2 separate regions of the Homo sapiens genome follow, and region 1 is linked to region 2. The links are contacts of gene promoters, found by promoter capture Hi-C in human tissues and cell types (Jung and others, 2019). All regions are on one chromosome and are shown on one strand. The core of a region is centred on a gene start or on the middle of the fragment in contact, and the rest is flanking DNA. Distances in the headings are between cores, read along the strand shown.

Region 1 (3,430 bases), core at 528-3,027, 61 kb before region 2:
CTCCTGTGTGTAGCAGCCTCTCAAACTTCTCTGGGGCAGGCCCAGAGCCTCTACTGGCACCTAAGGAAGGCTGTGTGGCATTTCAGCTGGAGAAAAGAGGAAGTGAGATCGTTTCTCCCCAGGAACCTTAGGCCTTCCTCTCAGACAAGCCCTTTCGCCTGGCATCTGCCTCCCACTGCCCAGTGAGTCAAGCCCAGTGCCTGGAGCTAGGAAACACCTCCTCAGTGCCTGACAGACCTGCCTCAGCAGTGCCAGGGGAGGAAGTGCCAGCAAGAGTAGCACAGAGTCACCCACCTGCCCCCCTGTCCTGTCCCCAACAAGCCTCCATGTTTACTCTCCCAGGGGCAGCCATTCCACCCCTTGCCCTTGGAGGGCTGAGCCGTGCTTTTAATCCTTTTATCCCAGAGCTAAGCCTGGGCCTCTGCTGAGTCTTCCAGGAAGGGACACTTCTGGAAGGCTCCTCTCTCCTCAGGACTAACCTCTTTCTTTTGTCCTTGCCAGAAGGAGAGCCTGTATGGTACCAGAAAGATGGGGGAATCAGAACTCCTGGGTCTTGCCCATTTCACTCTCCACATCAGCTGCCCATGCGGGAACCTGAGTTGAGTACCCACTGAGGGAGGTGAAGGAGGATGGTCTGGGCTCCCTCCATGGCTGGAGGGTGAGACATGGGCCAGCTCCACAGCCAAAGAGCTGTCTCCCTTGAAGACCTTCCAGTTAACATTTCCTCTCCAGAGAAGATAAACAACTGGGCTGGTGATATCAGGGGCCACCCAGTGCTTAAAGCCAGGGAGGATTGCTCCTCTGAATTTGAGTTTGTATTTTGGTGCTATCTTACCAGTAACTCTCACCTTGGCAACCTTAAGAGGTGGAGAGGGCAGGTTTTACTGTCTCCGTTTCAGAGACATGACAAGATGGAAACTGAGAATGTGATGTGGCTTACGCAGACCTCCCAGACACTACATGATAGCCAGATTAAACCTGAAGCTCCTTCCTCTTCTCTGAACTGTACACAAGGGAAGGAAAGGTGCCCAGCTCGGTTCTCTTCTCTGGCACCCTGGGATTATGGAGGCAGCGGGGTGGGGGGGCGGGGGAGAGTGGCTCAAGGTAAGCCTAGAGGTACATCCCAAAATTCCACATCTCCTTATAACAATCAGTCATTAGTCACTCATCAAATAAGCAGTAAGTACCTACCTCATCCCAAGTACTGCTCCAGGACACTTCCAGTGGGAAGGGAGGGACATTAAACAACCAGTGACAAGAAAGCCAGAGCTATGGGAATCTAGTCTAGGAGCCAGGGACAGATTCCTGGAAGAAGCCCATTTCAGATAAGACCGGAAGAGTGAATCAGAGTCACCCAAGCCATGAGGAAGAGCACGGACACCCTGTCGTCCGCGTGGAGATCTTTAGATCTTTAGCAGATAGTTGAATGTGAGAGGAGTCTAGACTACAGATAGAGACTTAAAAATTAGTAGCCTAGGGATAGATGGCTTTAGCCTTTCCATGCCCAATATCCAAAAATTTCCCCAAGTAAACAGACCCTAAGCGAGAGAAGCATGCAAACGATTTCTTTTTTTTTTTTTTTTTTTTTTTTTTTTTTTTAAGACAGAGTTTTGCTCTTGTTGCCCAGGCTGGAGTGCAATTGTGTGATCTCGTTTCACTGCAACCTCTGCCTCCTGGGTTCCAGCGATCCTCCTGCCTCAGCCTCCCGAGTAGCTGGGATTGCAGGCATGCTCCACCACGCCTGGCTAATTTTGTATTTTTAGTAGAGATGGGGTTTCTCCATGTTGGTCAGGCTGGTCTCAAACTCCCGATCTCAGGTGATCCATCTGCCTCAGCCTCCCAAAGTGCTGGGACTACAAGCATGAGCCACTGCGCCCGGCTTTTCTAAACAAGCTTCCTATTATATTTCCAGTTCCAATCAGCTAGATCAACAAGCCTTTTCCTTTTTTTTTTTTTTTTTTTTTTGAGACGAAGTCTTGCTCTGTAGCCAGGCTGGAGTGCAATGGCGCGATCTCGGCTCGCTGCAACCTTTGCCTCCCAGATTCAAGCGATTTCCCTGCCTCAGCCTCCTGAGTAGCTGGGACTACAGGCACACACCACCACACCCGACTAATTTTTTGTATTTTAATAGAGATAGAGTTTCACCATGTTGGCCAGGATGGTCTTGATCTCCTGACCTCATGATCCGCCCACCTTGACCTCCCAAAGTGCTGGGATTACAGGCGTGAGCCACTGTGCCTGGCCACCAACAAGCTTTTTCATATGGGAACTGTAGATCCAGTGGCCACTGTCTCTAAGGCCAACCATTCTGCCTAGAGTCCACCATCCCCTCCCTTCTGTCCCAGGCCCACCCGAACTGGGTTTACCTCTGTCTTCCTCTATATTGGCTCTCTGCCTCCACTGCAGTGCAAGATACTCCCATCATGAACATCCTCTTCTCACTCCTGTGGCTCCCTCAAGCCAAGCTCCTGGTTCTCTCCTCCTTTTCTATGCCAGGTGTGCGCCTGTTGCTCTCAGGTGCATTCTTAACCCTCTCCTGCTCTCCTCTGTTCTGAACTGCTGTGGGGCTGACTCCTGCAAGCTCTGTTCCCCAAGTTCTGCGGCAAACAAGCTTCCAAACAGCAGACAGGGTCATCCCATGAAATGGGGGAACAGGAGACAGCAAGCAAGAAGGGCATTTCTCCCCCTTCTCTCTCTGTGGGTGGGGTCTCCAGCAGGACCTGCATCTCCTTCACATTTCCGCCTCCCACCCGGCAGCCCCTGCCATGCTTCTGCTTCCCACCAGGTATCCCTGACTCTGGGCTCTCGTCCTGCCACATGTCCCTTCTTTATGATGCCAGCTCCTGAGGTCAGTTCCTGCTCATGATCATCAGAATACCACCTCCTCCTCCTCCGCTCTTCCAGTCGTGAGGGCAGTGGCAGCTTCCCCATGCAGCTACCCTCTGGCTTCCGCTTCCTCACTGCCCTCTGACCTTTCTGCAATTCCAAGAACCTTGGATCCAGCTATCTGCATTATGTTCCCTGCATTGCAGTGGCCCTTAAACTTCTTGGTGTCGGAGCTCCTTTACATCTTTTTCTTTCTTTCTTTTTTTTCTCAGAGACAGGGTCTTGCTCTGTTGCCCAAGCTCGAGGTGCAGTGGTGCAATCACAGCTCACTGTAGCCTCAAACTCCTGGGCTCAAGAGGTCCTCTGGCCTTTGCCTCTCAAGTAGCTGAGACTACACCATGTGCCACCATGCTCAGCTAATTATTATTATCTTTTTGAGGTAGGGTCTTGCTATGTTGCCCAGGCTTGTCTCAAACTGGTTGCCCCAAGCAATCCTCCCACCTCAGCTCCCAAGTAGCTGGGATTACAGGGATGAGCCATCAGGCCTGGCTTCCTTTGCATTCTTAAATATTGAAGACACTAAATAGTTGGATTTCATATACTG
Region 2 (3,380 bases), core at 207-2,706:
ATCTGGCAGATAGACTCCAGATTAGCAACCCCGGAGTCACGTGAGCCAAATTTACGCCGTACCCGGGTTCCAAGGTTAATCACCCCTCGCCCCCTCCGCTTCCCGGCTCCGCCGATGTGCCTCCTCTTCAGGCGGGCCTGGGGTCTGCGTCTCCCAGGCAGCTTTGGGGGTGGAAAAAAGGAGGGGAGCGGGGGAGGGGAAAGGAACTTCTTTGTTCTTTCACCGGATAAACTCAGTTTACGGAATTCTCCAACACCCACTCCCACCCCCAGTGTGCAAATATCTCTGATCCTCACTTGGAGGGCGAACTACTTCATTCATTGAGACTTTTGTGTTCCTGGCCCTAGGCTAAGTATTATCTTGTAAGATCACATTTAAGTTTCCCAACAACCCCCTGAGGTAGGTGTTATTATCCCTATTTTACAGATAAAAAGAAATGAGGTACTGAGAATAGCTTGCCTAGGGTTTTACAATTAATAGATTGGCACAGTTAGGTTTTGAGCCCCAGCCTGTTTTGACCCAAAAGCCCTAATCTTTATAGCTGTTCTTTATATAGCAGGAATAAGAGTAATAACCACTCCTTGCAGAGCAATTACTATATTCCAGGCACGGTGCACGGTATTTCTCCAAACTTCTCTCAGAGGCAGGTTTGCCACTTACCCGTTATGTGGCCTCAGGAAGTTTCTTAACCTCTTTTTGACTCAATTGCCCTGTCTGCAAAATGAGGCTAAAAATATGGTTGTCATGAAGAGTAAAAGAATTAATATATGTAAAGCCTGGCACACATTCATCCCTGAAATTGTTGTTGCTGTTGTTTTTTAACCATCATCTCCATTTCACAGGTAAGGAACCTACCCTTGGAGAGGTGAAGGAGTGAATTAGTCCAGCTTGCCCGCTGCACACCTAGCTGCAGAGAGACCCCGCTCAGAAGCCGTGCGGGATGGGGGCCCCACAGGCAGGTGAATTGCACTTGGCAGGTGGGAGATGAGCTTCTCCGGGGTCGCTGCAGAACGCGCAGCAGCCCGGGAGGCCGTGAATGGTTATCAGTTACCACGCAAGGCTGGGGGTCCGCCCGCTCCGGATTTGCTCGTAGTGCGAGGGCCCCGGCGGTGTGCTGGGGGATCCCGCCGGGCCCACTTAGAAGCACTCGGGGGGACACACCTGTTCGGGACACCTGTGGACGGGGCCCGGCTGCACCGCAGGAGCCCCCCGCCCTGGCCCCCGCGCACACACAGCCCCCCAAGGCGCGGAGGCCGCCGGCCCTCCCGCCCGTCGCGCTCCAGGGCGGAGTTTCCTCCTCTGCTCATTGTTCACGGCCCAGCGCCCGCCCAGCCCCGGCCCCGGCCCCGCCCGGCCCGGCCGCCGCCGCTGGCGGGCTCCTGGGGGAGGGGGAGGGGCGGGGGCGGGGGCGGGGGCCGGCGCTGACGGGACGGGCCAGGAGTAGCCGCAGCCGCCAGTGGGGCCGCAGCCGCGCAGACGCCGCCCAGGACGCAGCCGCCGCCGCCGCCGCTCCTCTGCCACTGGCTCTGCGCCCCAGCCCGGCTCTGCTGCAGCGGCAGGGAGGAAGAGCCGCCGCAGCGCGACTCGGGAGCCCCGGGCCACAGCCTGGCCTCCGGAGCCACCCACAGGCCTCCCCGGGCGGCGCCCACGCTCCTACCGCCCGGACGCGCGGATCCTCCGCCGGCACCGCAGCCACCTGCTCCCGGCCCAGAGGCGACGACACGATGCGCTGCGCGCTGGCGCTCTCGGCGCTGCTGCTACTGTTGTCAACGCCGCCGCTGCTGCCGTCGTCGCCGTCGCCGTCGCCGTCGCCCTCCCAGAATGGTGAGTGGCCGGCCTGGGTTCCGCCGGGACTCCCACCGTGCCCATGTGCCCCCTGCCCGGCCGAGCTGCAGGGAAGCCCGGCGCGCCGCGTGGTCCGACCCCGAGCAGCCCTATCACCGCCGGGGTCACACACGGAGCCCTGACCTTGCACCATCCACGCCCCCTCCAAACTCCGCAGCGCGGCAGGTGCAGGGCCTGGGCGTAGATTCGTCTCCACTCTCCACTCGGGAGGAGTGGGCGGTGGATTCTGCCCGGGCAAACAGGGGCGCGCCGGTGCTAAGTGGGTTTGCATGGGAAAGAAAAGGGAGACCGCACCGCGAGGCTCCACGCTTCTGCGGGACTCTCGGGATCTGATTACACCTTTCCTTCGTGTTGGAGGGAATGAGGGGCTGTAGTGTGTATTCGTTAATTCCAGGCAAAGAGGCAGGCGAGAGGCTCCCGAGGAAGTCCCTGAAGCAGGTGACAAGCCTCCAGCCACGGCCCACGCGGGCGATGTACTTACCCGTTTGCAGAGGTTTTTTCTAAGTAATGTGTGCAGGCTCAACTCCTTGAGCCCGTGCTGGGGCAGGTACAGAGTCGTAAGTGGACCTTCCACAGTCCCAGAGTCACCTGGCTGAGTGGGGGTCCTACCTCCGTGTCCCTAAAACAATCGCTTCTTAGTGCGTGGCTACGATGGTGAGACCCCCCTCGAATCCTCTTGTTCAAACGGGAACTTGTTCAAACGGGAACTTCTCTCTCGTAGAATAGGATTGGGCTGCATTTTAGACACACCTTAGAAAATGTACCTGTCTCTCATGAAACACCTGCACCTCAGAAACATCCCCTCCCTGTTTCTTTTCAAGGTGAAATGTTACTCTTTCCCTTTTGGGGGACAGGCGATGGCTGCAAACTCAACCAGAACAGGTGTTCTTAAGCCCCTAGGGAACAGCCAGAGTCAGCTCAGCCCCACGGGAGAGGTGCATTTCTCATTCTCTTTTGCCCACCTGAGCACATGTCTGCAGGAAGAGCTGAGGTGGTGTGATCACCCTAGGGCCAGGAGGACTGCGGGGACAGCACAGACAGGGTAGGGATTCTGCTGTGAGCAGGTGCCGGCAGTTTGGGACTGGACTCTAAGGGGCCAGGGGAGATGGAAGGGCAGTACAGTCTCTCCTCTGCACCGCAGGAAACCTTTGGTAGTGGGCAGGCGCTGGCACTCAGGGAGCAGGCAGGCGTGGGCATCCTCCTGTGGCCGGCGGGAGACTCCACCAGCCTGACTAGAAAGGGAAGGTCCCGGCGGGGGGAAGAATGTGTGTCCCTGGAAGAGGGGCTGCAGTGTGAGGAACAGTCAGAACAGCTTTCAGAGTGGCAATCACTGAAGAGCCACACGACATGCAGGGTTGAGATGACACGAGAGTATGGTGGCTCCTTAGCCCTACTCTGGGGACAGCTGGACTTCAGGGTGGGCCTTCATACGAACCTTTTGTTGGGAAGCCTCTTAGAACCACCCAGAAGGGCGTTGGGCTGTGTCAGGAAAGAGGGGTTAGTCCCTAGTGCTTCTGAGCTTAAGGAAGCTGAGC

What was found. The method cuts DNA at HindIII sites, captures the fragments that hold promoters and counts their contacts. A contact is called where the count stands out against the background at its distance.
Region 1: a contact is called between a fragment that was not itself captured here and the fragment with the promoter of PODXL in region 2, in 8 of the 25 tissues and cell types used here (H1 embryonic stem cells, IMR-90 fibroblasts, dorsolateral prefrontal cortex and 5 more).

The regions. Positions count from the first base shown.
Region 1 is chr7:131,616,473-131,619,902 of GRCh38, reverse strand. No RefSeq gene overlaps it. Among named protein-coding and RNA genes, the nearest start is that of PODXL, 62 kb to the right of the region's middle. The HindIII fragment of the contact is 5,865 bases long and covers 1-3,430 here.
Region 2 is chr7:131,554,704-131,558,083 of GRCh38, reverse strand. It overlaps PODXL (podocalyxin like), which reads left to right and starts at 1,456. Exons shown (of 9, transcript NM_001018111.3): 1 at 1,456-1,824. The coding sequence starts at 1,725. RefSeq lists an enhancer at 521-1,068 and silencers at 1,036-1,155, 1,186-1,245, 1,326-1,835. The HindIII fragment of the contact is 6,040 bases long and covers 1-3,380 here.